2 separate regions of the Homo sapiens genome follow, and region 1 is linked to region 2. Evidence: promoter capture Hi-C in human tissues and cell types (Jung and others, 2019). All regions are on one chromosome and are shown on one strand. Each heading gives the region's core, a stretch centred on a gene start or on the middle of the fragment in contact. The rest is flanking DNA. Distances are from core to core; before and after follow the strand shown. Region 1 overlaps LOC124904625 (a long non-coding RNA gene). Region 2 holds the start of TNFSF14 (TNF superfamily member 14).

What was found. Contacts are between HindIII fragments. The study calls those that stand out against the background at their distance.
Region 1: a contact is called between a fragment that was not itself captured here and the fragment with the promoter of TNFSF14 in region 2, in 2 of the 25 tissues and cell types used here (adrenal gland and bladder).

Annotation. Positions count from the first base shown.
Region 1 is chr19:7,087,957-7,094,265 of GRCh38, forward strand. LOC124904625 (a long non-coding RNA gene) reads right to left here. Exons shown (of 3, transcript XR_007067110.1): 2 at 4,339-4,495; 3 at 87-1,495. It overlaps ZNF557 (zinc finger protein 557), which reads left to right. Exons shown (of 8, transcript NM_024341.3): 8 at 1-12. Among named protein-coding and RNA genes, the nearest start is that of ZNF557, 21 kb to the left of the region's middle. The HindIII fragment of the contact is 5,869 bases long and covers 1-5,551 here.
Region 2 is chr19:6,665,576-6,672,473 of GRCh38, forward strand. TNFSF14 (TNF superfamily member 14) reads right to left here and starts at 4,585. Exons shown (of 4, transcript NM_001376887.1): 1 at 4,276-4,585; 2 at 1,838-1,874; 3 at 1,538-1,579. The coding sequence starts at 4,494. RefSeq lists enhancers at 3,105-3,194, 3,255-3,444, 4,345-4,434, 4,815-5,044 and a silencer at 5,615-5,714. The HindIII fragment of the contact is 26,746 bases long and covers 1-6,898 here.

The sequences.
Region 1 (6,309 bases), core at 1,367-3,866, 420 kb after region 2:
TAGATTAACAAATTCTTTCTGTAATTCTGTCATTTTTACTTTATATATGTTTATGTGTAATGTAACTAGGTGCGTAGAGGTTTAGATATTCTCCTGTGAATTTATTTATTTTCAGTAGGGGCCATACCTTTTCATACCAAATAATTGTAATATGAAAATATATTAACAAAAAGAGATCAAACATTTCGCTAGCCCATCCTATAGACCAGGCGCTCTTCAAAGTGCCTTATAAATATTAACTGCGTCCTCACTATAAGCTTGCAAACTGTGCTATTACTGTCTCCAACTTACAGATGGGAAAACTGGCATGGAAATGTCTAGGTTGCTTGCCTGAGTTCACCAGCTAGTAAGTGGTAGAGCACAGATTGGAATCCAGACAGGTGATTCTCATAACCACTAGCCTGTTCATTGAGTACATTCCATGTGGCTAAGCACTGTTTGAGATGCCATGTCTAGAGCAGTGAATGAAACTCAAGTTTTGCCATTGAGGCACTTACATCCTAACGGGGAGGGGTGAATTATAGAAAAATCAACAACATGGCCGGGCGCTGTGACTCACGCCTGTAATTCCAATACTTTGGGAGGCTGGGGCAGATCATGAGGTCAGGAGTTTGAGACCGGCCTGACCAACATGGTGAAACGCCATCTCTACTAAAAATACAAAAAAATTAGCTGGGTGTGGTGGTGCGCTCAGCTAATCAGGAGGCTGAGGCAGGAGAATCGCTTCATCCTGGGAGGTGGAGGTTGCAATGAGCCGAGATCGCGCCACTGCACTCCAGCCTGGGCAACAGAGCAAGACTCCATCGAAAAAGAAAAATCAACAATATTCATGTTGTGCAGAAAAATAAAGCATTGTGAGAGAGTTACGGAGGGCTGGGGACTTTCCATTTTATGTAGCATAGGAAGGAAAAGGCCCCCAGTTAAGGTGCATTTGAGGAGAGACTATTGAGTAGGAACTTGTGGCAAGAGGACTGTTGGCATGCAAAGACCCACAGCACAGAGGCCAGTATGACTCAGGTAAAATAGGGATTCAGGGATTAGAGGGTAATCGGAGATGCAGATCCTGATCTTGTGGGGTTTTATAGGTCATTGTTAGGGCTTTTCCTTACATGTTCAGGAAGTTGGAATATCAAGAGTCCCAGCAGGAAACAGTTGACACACACGTCAACTGGGATGATTCAAGCGCAGTTTATATCAAGGGGCTCCTCACAGAATTGTGAACAGGATGTAGGGAAACCACAAAAGGTACTTGAAATGGAACATCGGTCTTCTCCCCACCTCAGATACGGGTGCTTCTGGTTCTCCAGCCTTCAGACTCAGACTCGCAACTTACACCATTGGCCCTCCTGGTTCTCAAGCCTTTGGACTTCACACTGGGGTTTACACTGTTGGCTCCCCTGTTTTCAGGTCTTTGAGCTTGGACTGGAGCAAGACTACCAGCTTTCTTGGTTCTCCAGCTTCCAAACAAATGGCAGATCGTAGGACACCCATAAGCCTGAAGGGACAAAGGAAGAGAACTGCAAGTTGTTGTTCAAGCGAGGAGAGGGCTGCATTCCAGGAGCTGACAGGAGGTCAGTGAGGGGCAACATCCAGCCTCGAGTTCTGCAAGAAATAGTAAGGGTCGGCCAGGCACAGTGGCTCACACCTATAATTCTGGCACTTTGGGAGGCCGAGGTGGGTGGATCACTTGAGATCAGGAGTTCAAGACCAGCCTGGCCAACATGATGAAACCCATTCTCTACTGAAAATACAAAAACTAGCCGGGTGTGGTGGCATGCGCCTGTAGTCCCAGCTATTCAGGAGGCTGAGGCAGGAGAATTGCTTGAACCCGGTAGGTGGAGGTTGCAATGAGCCAAGATCATGCCATTGCACTCCAGCCTGGGTGACAGAGTGAAACTCCATCCCCACCCCCCCACCACCACCAAAAAAGAGAAAGAAATAGCCAGGGCCAGCCCTCCTTGTCCTTCATTCTTCTTATATCATATTTGGGTTCCCCATTTGCCAAACTCAACCAAAAGCCAATAAGGTAAGGGAGTTCGTTGATAGCATTCATAGTAACTAATCATCCCAAGTACAGCAGGGTAGAGGAGGTGAATCTGCTGGGGCGAATGGAAGATACCCAGTATTGGTCACTCCTTTTGCTTCTCAGAATCTACTCATGCCCATCACCTGGATGGAAAGTTCATATCCAAGCCCAGGAATTCTATCAGTTGCTCAGCTACCCTGGGGTGGTGTCCATGCACTGATACTCCCCGATGAAGCCTAACATAGTTGCCAACACCAGTGTTTCCTGTATAGGATGAGGAACAGAGCCATTGGGGAGGAAAGCAAAAGAAATAATTAACCTGGCCAGGCGCAGTGGCTTACCCCTGTAATCCCAGCACTTTGGGAGGCCGAGGTCGGTGGATCACGAGGTCAGGAGTTTGAGACCAGCCTGGCCAACATGGTGAAACCCCGTCTCTACTAAAAATACAAAATTAGCCAGGCACAGTGGTGGGCGCCTGTAATCCCAGCTACTCAGGAGGCTGAGGCAGGAGAATCTCTTGAACCCGGGAGGCGGAGATTGCAGTGAGCCGAGATCATGCCACTGCACTCTAGCCTGGGTGACAGAGTAAGACTTCATCTAAAAAAAAAGAAAAAAGAGAAGTAACCTAAAGGACTTGGTTCCCAGAGGGAAACACTTCCACCAAGAGACACAGTAAGAGTCTCATCGGATGTTAAACTGTGACTTCTATGAGACCAGCACACAAGGAAAGAAGTCACCATACTGACTTAGGTAATTAATGCTATCATCCATAGAATCTGAGGCTGCTGTTACATGATGAGTGCAGGGAGGAAAACATTTGGCATTCACGGAATCCATTGGGATGTCTCTTACTATTCTTTCCCCAATTTTAAAGATAAAAAAATTTTGGCCAGGCGTGGTGGGTCACGCTTGTAATCCCAGCACTTTGGGAGGCCGAGGTGGGCACATCACAAGGTCAGGAGATCGAGACCAGCCTGGCTAACATGGTGAAACCCTGTCTCTACAAAAAATACAAAAAAATTAACTGGGCGCGTTGGCAGGCGCCTGTAGTCCCAGCTACTTGGGAGGCTGACGCAGGAGAATGGCGTGAACCCAGGAGGCGGAGCTTGCAGTGAGCCGAGATCGCGCCACTGCACTCCAGCCTGGGCAACAGAGCGAGACTCTGTCTCCAAAAAAGAAAAAGATAAAAAAATTTCACCAGCTATGTCCTGAGAAGGGCATGGTGAAGACCCCGTAGGCATAAGGATCTGGAGCAGCTCTCCAGGTAAGCCACCTAGACCAGCAGGATCTAGGTGAGAAGGAAATCTAGAATTTTCACCCTAGTCAAGGGTAAAGGGAATCTGGAAGGTGCAAGTAAAGGAGTGTGATAAGCATCAATTGCATCTCTGAGACTTGTTCAGGTGGAAAGGGCTGTCTACAGTTTGTCCCACTGATCTTCCTCTTGTCAGTTTCTCCAGGCAACGGGACCAACCTGGATCCTGAGGGCACTTACTTTAAGAATCCTGGGGCCGGGCACAGTGGCTCACGCCTGTAATCCCAACACTTTGGGAGGCAGAGGCGGGCAGATCACTTGAGGTTAGGAGTTCGAGACCAGCTTAGCCAACATGGTGAAACCTCATTTCTACTAAAAATACAAAAAATAGCTGAGTATGGTGGCACATGCCTATAGTCCCAGCTACTCCAGAGGCTGAGGCAGGAGAATCACTTGAACTCAGGAGGCAGAGGTTGCAGTGAGCCAAGATGGTACCACTGCACTCCAGCCTGGGCAACAGAGGGAGACTCTGTCTCAAAAACAAAACAAACAAAATGAATGCAGGGCATCTGAGTGGCACACATGGTGGACCACAGTAGGTACAGTGGTGGCACTACCCAGCAAAAGAGCTCTTCACCCAATGTGCTAGAAGCCAATACTATGACATCAGATTTTTGAGAAAAGGAAAGGTTTGTATTGCAAGTTAACAAGGAGACAGGAGTCCAGCTCAAATTTGTCTTATGCTGACTTTAAGGCAATAATTTTCTTAGAAAAGGTGTAGGGCGTGGATTCTGGGATTAGCAGGCGATTGGTGGGAGGAAAGGTCTGTTAAGTCCTCAGGCAGGTGCAATGATCTCTTCATGCCTCCCCATGGGTTCCATGTGCAAAGTCATACTAACTCAAGGGAGTTTGTATGAAACACGTGGAAATTTGCACTGTGACATCAGCAAGCTCATTCTGCACAAACTCCATTTGGCCATGTGGGTTCTCACAGATTTTAGGCAGTTTTGTTACAAGTGGAGGCAGTTTCAGCGTTTTAGCAAGTTATTTCTTTTTTTACCTGCCATCCTGCAAACTCAATGAGAGGTGAAGCCAGCTGGACTTCCTGGGTCGAGTGGGGACTTGGAGAACTTTCCTGTTTTACAAGAGGATTGTAAAACACACCAATCAGCACTCTGTAGCTAGGATTGTAAACCGCACCAGTGAGCGCTCTGTAGCTAGCAAGAAGATTGTAAAATGCACCAATCAACAGTCTGTAAAACACACCAATCAGCAAGATCCTGAAAGCAGCCAATTGCAGGGAGGATTGAAAAAAGGGCACTCTGATAGGACAGAAACAGAACATGGGAGGGGTCAATAAGGGAATAAACGCTGGCCACTCCAGCCAGCAGCGGCAACCAGCTCGGGTCCCCTTCCAAGCTGTGGAAGCTTTGTTCTTTTGCTCTTCACAGTAATCCTTGCTACCGCTCACTCTTTGGGTCTGTGCCATCTTTAAGAGTGAAGGTCTGTGGCTTCTTTCTTGAAGTCAGCGAGACCACGAACCCACCAGAAGGAACCAGCTTCCAACACATCAAGAATTTCTGCTAGTCTTTGCTTTAACACTTTAGGCATGGTTTCAGTGGCATATTTCCCAGATTCTTCCTTTAAGACTAAGGCACTAAGGCCAGGCGTGGTGACTCACGCCTGTAATCCCAACACTTTGGGAGGCTGAGGCAGGTGGATCACGAGGTCAAGAGATCAAGACCATCCTGGCCAACATGGTGCAACCCCGTCTCTACTAAAACTACAAAAATTAGCTGGGCGTACCTGTAATCCCAGCACTTTGGGAGGCCAAGGCCGGCGGATCACGAGGTCAGGAGATAGAGACCATCCTGGCTAACACGGTGAAACCCCATCTCTACTAAAAATACAAAAAATTAGCCAGGCATGGTGGCGGGCACCTGTAGTCCCAGCTACTCGAGAGGCTGAGGCAGGAGAGTGGCGTGAACCTGGAAGGCGGAGCTTGCAGTGAGCCGAGATGGCGCCACTGCACTCCAGCCTGGGCGACAAAGACTCCATCTCAAAAAAAAAAAAAAAAATTAGCTGGGCGTGGTGGCGTGTGCCTGTAGTCCCAGCTACTCAGGAGGCTGAGGCTGGAGAATCGCTTGAACCTGGGAGGCGGAGGTTGCAGTGAGCCAAGATCTTGCCACTGCACGCCAGCCTGGTGACAAAGCAAGACTCCATCTAGAAAAAAGAAAAGACTAAGGCACTCCCCTAGCTGCTGGAGGTGTTGCCTGATGATGGTGATGCTGCTGTCCTCTCTGGGAACTCCCCAAGGCCCAGAGGAAAGTGCCCAACCCAAGATTATGCTCTCTCTCCAGGGGTTGCCTACTTCCAGTGACTGGTTGATGTAGGGGGTACAAAGGTCCAGTGCCTTTGTTTCAATGTAGGACACCCCTGAAGGGCAACCCCAGCACCAGAACTCCCTGTGGGATCGACGGCAGCCTCAGTTGACAAGTTACATGTCAGCCTCATCTGTCCCCTCCGCTTCTCGCATGCCTTTAAAGATGTTGTTCCCAGGAGTTTTATCCAATAAACAAAAAATTGCCAGCACAAAATCTGTTCCCAGAAAACCTGATCCGAGATAAGATCACTCTATCAGGGTAAAGAATCCATTCAGGGCCGGTCTCAGGAGATCGAGACCATCCTGGCTAACACAGTGAAACCCTGTCTGTACTAAAAATACAAAAAATTAGCCGGGCGTGGTGGCGGGCGCCTGTAGTCCCAGCTACTCAGGAGGCTGAGGCAGGAGAATGGCGTGAACCCGGGAGGCAGAGCTTTCAGTGAGCCGAGATCGCGCCGCTGCACTCCAGCCTGGGCGACAGAGTGAGACTCCATCCCAAAAAAAAATAAAAATAAAAATCCATTCAGATAAGGGACTGGCAGAGAGAAAGCAGAATGTGGAATGGATGTGGAAGAATTAAATTCAGTCCTGAAGACCAGGTCCCAAAGCAGGAATAGAAGACAGCTATGCTTTGGGTTTGGGTTTTTT
Region 2 (6,898 bases), core at 3,335-5,834:
TTTTTGTAGTTTTAGTAGAGATGGGGTTTTGCCATGTTGCTGAGGCTGGTCTTGAACTCCTGACTTCAGGTGATCCACCCGCCTCGGCCTCCCAGAGTGCTGGGATTACAGGTGTGAGCCACCACGCCCGGCCTCACATGTCTTACTCCTGCTGTGTGACTCCAGGCCAGTCACCACTAGGCTGTTTGTGTGTGTGTGTGCATGTGTGCGTGTGTGTGTGTGTGTGTGTGTGTGTGTGTGTGTGTTTGTAGAGGTGGGGGTCTCACAATGTGGCCCAGGCTGGTCTCGAATTCCTGTGCTCAACCGATCCTTCAGGCTCCCAAGTGCTGGGATTCCAGTCATGAGCCACCACCCTGCCTAGCCTGTTTGTATGTATTAATTTGCTTTATCCCTGCTTTGCAGAGGAGGGAAACTGAGGCACAGGGAAGCAAATTAACTTGCTTAGTCTATATCTCAACTCTTTGCATCCCTCTTTTGCAGGTGGGGAAACTGAGGCATGGAACCGTTAAGTGATTTGCCAAAAGTGTCAAAACTTGGCTGGGTGTGGCGTCTCACCCCTATAATCCCAGCACTTTGGGAGGCTGAGACAGGAAGATCCCCTGAGCCCAGGAGTTTGAGTCCAGGAGTTCCAGATGAAGTAACATAGGGAGACCCTGTCTCTACAAAAAACAAAAAAATTAGCTGGGCATGGTGGCAGGCACCTGTAGTCCCAGCTGCTGGGGAAGCTGAAGTGGGAGGATCGCTTGCACCTGGCAAGTTGAGGGTGCCGTGAGCCGTGATAGCACCACTCCAGCCTAGTTGACAGAGTAAGACCCTGTCTCAAAAAAAAAAAAAAAAAATGTCCAAACATGCAAGTTTGCAAAACCAAGAAACCAAAGCGGCACCTCGTACTCGCTGTGTGCCTCAGTTTCCCTCTCTGTAAAATGCGCATATTAATAGCACCTGCTTGGAATGTAATGAATTAATATGTAGAAAGCGTGTCACAGCACATAACACAGCATAAGCACTATATGAGAGTTCATTAAATTAATAAAACTAGGCCGGGCCCGGTGGCTCACGCCTGTAATCCCAGCACTTTGGGAGGCCAAGGCGGGAGGATCACCTGAGATCGGGAGTTTGAGACCAGCCTGGCCAACATGGCAAAACCCTGTCTCTACTAAAAATACAACAAAATTAACCGGGTGTGGTGGTGCATGCCTGTAATCCCAGGTACTTGGGAGGCTGAGGCAGAAGAATCGCTTGAACCCGGGAGGCGAAGACTGCAGTGAGCCGAGATCATGCCACTGCACCCCAGCCTGGGCAACAGAGTGAGACTGTCTCAAAAATAAATAAATAAATAAATAAATAAATAAATAGAAATAAAAAATAATAAAATAAATAAAACTGGAAATACATAGCACTTGCAGCCTATGTTCTGAGCAACTCTGTGAGTAAATAAGCAATGAATGAATGAATACACTGATATGTATGGCGTTTATCTGGTCTTCCCGAGACGCCCTGACCCCTGCCCCTTGCCAGGATCCAGGGTCCCTCTCACCTGTGAGATGCGCTGCTGGGTTGACCTCGTGAGACCTTCGCTCTGGGGAAAGAGGGTCAGAGGTTAGAGACGAAGACAGTGGAGGTAAAAAGCCAGCCTCCTAAAGGGCCACCGTGTACACCTCCTGGAATCAACCCCACCCCTTCCGGAGTGACCCAAACTTCTGCTTCTCAGGCCTGGGGGAGGGGCACCTGTGAGGATTTGGCCAGTTGTGCAAATCATATTGGGCAATTGACCGAGGGGTGGGGGTGGCATGGGAATCATCACACCTCCTTCCCTGGGGCCAGGACCCTGACTCACCTTGTATCAGCTGCTCCCAGGAGCCTGCAGGTCCGTCCTGAAAATGCAGAAGGGGCCTGCGGTAAGAACCTGCAGCGGGGGCCACGCCCTCGCATTGCTCACACATGGCTATGAGACATGAGGACCATAGCCACCGACACCACCCTCAGACACGTACACAGGGCCACATACTCTCACTTGCAGACACACACCCCCTGTCCAGAGGCCTCACAACCACTTGGTGCCTCAGTTTCCCTCTATGTAAATGGAGTTACGAATCGTGTCTGCTTGGCGTTTAATGAATTCACATATGTAAGGCATTATTACAGTGCTTGGCACATAGTATGCACTAGAGAAAGGTTTAATAGGTCGGGTGCATTGGCTCACACCTCTAATCCCAGCACTTCGGGAGGCCGAGGTGGGCAGATTACCTGAGGTCAGGAGTTCGAGACCAGCCTGGCCAACACAGTAAAACCCTGTATCTACTAAAACTACAAAAATTAGCTGGGCCTGGTGGTGGGTGCCTGTAATCCCAGCTGCTCTGGAGGCTGAGGCAGGAGGATCGCTTGAACCTGGGAGGTTGCAGTGGGCCCAGATTGTGCCACTGCACTCTAGCCTAGGTGACAGAGTGAGATTCTATCTCAAAAAATAAATAAATAAATAAAAGGGTTTAATAAATAAATAACATTGCCCAGAGCAGTGGCTTACACCTGTAATCCCAGCACTTTGGGAGGCCAAAGTGGGAGGACAGCTTGAGGCCAGGAGTTTAAGACCAGCCTGGGCAACACAACAAGACCTCATCTCTACAAAAAATTTTTAAGATTAGCCAGGCATGGTGGTGCATGCCTGTAGTCCCAGCTACTCATGAAGCTGGGACAGGAGGCTTGCTTGAGCCCAGGAGTTCAAGGCTGCAGTGAGCTATGATCGTGCCACTCCACTCTAGCCTGGGAAGCAGAGTGAGACACAGTCTCTAAGATAAATAAATATGTAATTAATTAAATAAATAAGTAATATTTAAAAATACAGGGACAAGGCCAGGCGTGGTGGCTCACACCTGTAATCCCAGCACTTTGGGAGGCTGAGGCAGGTGGATCACTTGAGGTCAGGAGTTCGAGACAAGTCTGGCCAACATGGTGAAACCCCGTCTGTACTAAAAATACACAAATTAGCCAGGCACGGTGGCGGATGCCTGTGATCCCAGCTACTGCTCAGGAGGCTGAGACAAGGGAATCACTTGAACCTGGGAGGTGGGGTTGTAGTGAGCCAAGACTGCACCACTACACTACAGCCTGGGCTATGGGAGAGAAACCTTGTCTCAAAAAAAAAAAAATGCAGACAGCGAGATGGCTGGACACATGGACACCACCCTTGGGATATAGCACCTGCCACAGGGCACAGACCTCAACATCATCATGACGCTGAGAAGACACATGTGGGCTCAGATGCGTGGACATGTGGTTTGTGGTTTATGGATCCATGTGCGTCTACAGACACAGAGACCCAGAGACAAAGACAGACAACGTGAATACACCGGCTGCAGCTAGGCGGGTGTGTGGACATGTGGGTACACGCACATACGTCCACATGGGTATATGGACACGAATGTGTGGCCACCGGATCCAGACCCAGGACACAAAAGGGGCCAAGCCCACAGGGGTATGGTGTTGGGCACACATAGACCCCCAGGTGAGGCACACAGACAGGCGGACACATCCACAGCCAGCTGGAAGCAGACCGAGAAATTTCCACAGATGGAAATGGTCAGAGAATTAATGACAATCGCAGTAACAGTAATAAGAGTACCAGAGAAGGCCAGGCGCAGTGGCTCACACCTGTAATCCCAGCACTTTGGGAGGCTGAGGCGGGTGGATCTCCTGAGGTCGGGAGTTTGAGACCAGCCTGACAAACATAGAGAAGCCCCATCTCTACTAAAAATACAAAATTGGCCAGGCGTGGTGGCGCATGCCTGTAATCCCAGCTACTCGGGAGGCTGAGGCAGGAGAATCACTTGAACCCGGGAGGCAGAGGTTGCGGTGAGCAGAGATCATGCCATTGCACTCCAGCCTGGGCAACGAGAGTGAAACTCCGTCTCAAAAATAAAAAAGTACAGAGAAAATGCATGCGTGTGTGCACAGGGGTGTGCATGGCAGTGTTGGGGTGTCAGTTCCGACGGGTGGAGCTGGCATCGTCTGGTACTACACATGCCATAGCATACTTCGTCCCCTATGAAGAGACTGCCCTTATTTTGTAGATGAAGACACTGAGGTTCAGAGAGGTGAATTCACTTGCCCAAGGCTGGGAGCAGCAACCAGTCAAGCCAGCTGCTCTCAGCCTGTGCCCTGTCCTACACACACACACACACACACACACACACACACACACAGACACACAGTGACCCACAATGACACAGGGGAGCCCCCCTCACCTCCACCTGCTCTCAGCCCCCCGGTCCCACTCACAGGCAGGCGGGTGACCATCTCTCCTAGACGCCAGTGCAGCTGCAGGAGGAACCAGCCTTGGACGGCCAGCCCGGCCCCCATCAGCAACAGCAAGAGACCCAGACCCACCCGGGCCACACTGCACGACTGTCTCCGGTGGCTTCGTCCCAGCCTCGTGAATGGGATGTCGGTCTGTCCATCCACCACAAACACTGAGGGCCGTACGACACTCTCCTCCATGCCCAAGGTGTCTGGAGCAGGGCTGACACGCCTGGGTCCTTCAACCTCAGAGGAAACCGAAATTGCTCAACACTCCTGGGCTGTGCACGCTGCGGACAGGCACCCGTGGGCCGCCTTTAGAGCTGGGGTTCAGCCCCACCCCTTCCCCCACTCACCCTCCTCTTCTTCCGGTACCCGCCGCCCCCGGTCTTGGCCCTGTCTCACTCTCACTCATACAGACTCTCACACTTTCCAGAGGCTTCTGAAAATGTGACTCAGGTGGCAAGTGCAGTGGGGAGCCCCCAGCTTTCCCTTCTTGGATGCTTCATTCGCTTGGGGCCACCAAATATCGACTGAGGACTTTCTGCCCATGCCAGGCTCTGCTCTCGGTGTGGGGGATGCAGCAATGAACAACAGCAAGAAGGGTCCCTGCTCCTCTTCTGGTGGAGCCAGAGAGACAAGAAACCTCGTAAACAAGAAAATAATACGTTGTGGGTTTTTTTGTTCGTTTATTTGTTTTGTTTTTGAGATGGAGTCTCGCTCTGTTGCCCAGGCTGGAGTGCAGTGGCGCGATCTCAGCTTACTACAACCTCCACCTCCTGGGTTCAAGCAATTCTCCTGCCTCAGCCTCCCAAGTAGCGGGGATTACAGGCGCGTGCCACCACGCCTGGCTGCTTTTTGTATTTTTAGTAGAGATGGGTTTTCACCATGTCGGTCAGGCTGGTCTCGAACTCCTGACCTCAAGCGATCCACCCACCTCAGCCTCCCAAAGTGCTGGGATTACAAACGTGAGCCGCACCATGCCCGGCCTTCTGTTGTGTTTTGATGTGACAAGTGCAGTGAAAAACACAAGAGTGGAATAAAGGAGTGGATGTGTGCTCTGTGTGTGTGCTTGTCTGCATGCATATATGTGTGCAGTGTGTGCATGTGAATGTGTGTATTCAGTTGTGTGCATGCAAGTGTGTATCATGTACACATGTGCAGGCGCATGCCTGTGTATCATACATGTGCTGGCATGTAAATGTGCGTGCATATGTGGGCAGGTGCATGCATATGTGTATGGTCATCTGTGTGCATGTGCATGTGGTCCATGTACATGCATGCATGTGCACGTGTGTGTATGTGTGAACATGCATCACATGTGCAAGTGGGTGTGCATATATGTGCTGTGTGCAGGTGTGTGCATGTGTGTGTGCCTGTGCATTGGTGCGTGTATGTGTGTGTGCGCACTTGCACGGGTGTGTTCATGTGTGTGGGGAGGTCCATGTATGAGTGTGCATGCATTCAAGCGTGGATTTTTTTTTTTTTCGAGACGGAGTCTCGCTCTGTCGCCCAGGCTGGAGTGCAGTGGTGCGATCTCGGCTCACTGCAAGCTCCGCCTCCCAGGTTCACGCCATTCTCCTGCCTCAGCCTCCTGAGTAGCTGGGACTACAGGCGCCCACCACCGCACCCAGCTAATTTTTTGTATTTTTAGTAGAGACGGGGTTTCACCGTGTTAGCCAGGATGGTCTCAATCTCCTGACCTCGTGATCCGCCTGCCTTGGCCTCCCAAAGTGCTGGGATTACAGGCATAAGCCACCGCACCCAGCCTTTTTCTTTCTTTTTTTTTTTGAGGCAGAGTCTCACTTTGTCACCCAGGCTGGAGTGCAGTGGTGCCATTTTGGCTCACTGCAACCTCTGCCTCCCGGATTCAAGCAATTTTCCTGCCTCAGCCTCCTGAGTAGCTGGGATTACAGGCGCCCACCACCATGCATAGCTAATTTTTGTATTATATGTTGGCCATTATATATGTTGTAACATATATGTTGTCTATATGTTGGCCAGGCTGGTCTCGAACTCCTGACCTCAGGTGATCTGCCCACCTCAGCCTCCCAAAATGCTAGAATTACAGGCGTGAGCCACTGCACTTGGCTTCTGTCTTGTTTCATAAGTATCTTTGTAATATCCTTGATTTTACCTCTTGGCCCTGAAAGCCAAAAACACTTATGTGGCCCTTTATAGATACAGTTTGCTGCCAGCTTGCCCCTGAGCTTAGGCTAAGACACGAAGTGCCCTTCACTGGGGCCTCTGTGGTTGGACCCTCGTGCTTTTGCTCACTCTGCCCCAGACAGATATCCTGGGTCTTTGCACTTCCTCTTCCTGCTGCTGGGAACCATCTTCCCTAGATCTCCAAAGCAGGCTCCCCCTGCTCATCTGCGTCTTGACTCAAGAAACTTCTCACAGGAGCCCTCCCTGAATTGGTCAGGTGTCTCCCGAGAGACAGAACCAATAGAAGATACACAGAGAGATAGAGATGGGATCTATAGGCTGGGTGCGGTGGCTCACGCCTGTAATCCCAGCACTTTGGGAGGCTGAGGCATGTGGATCACCTGAGGTCGCGAGTTCGAGGCCAGCCTGGCCAATATGGGGAAACCCTGTCTCTATC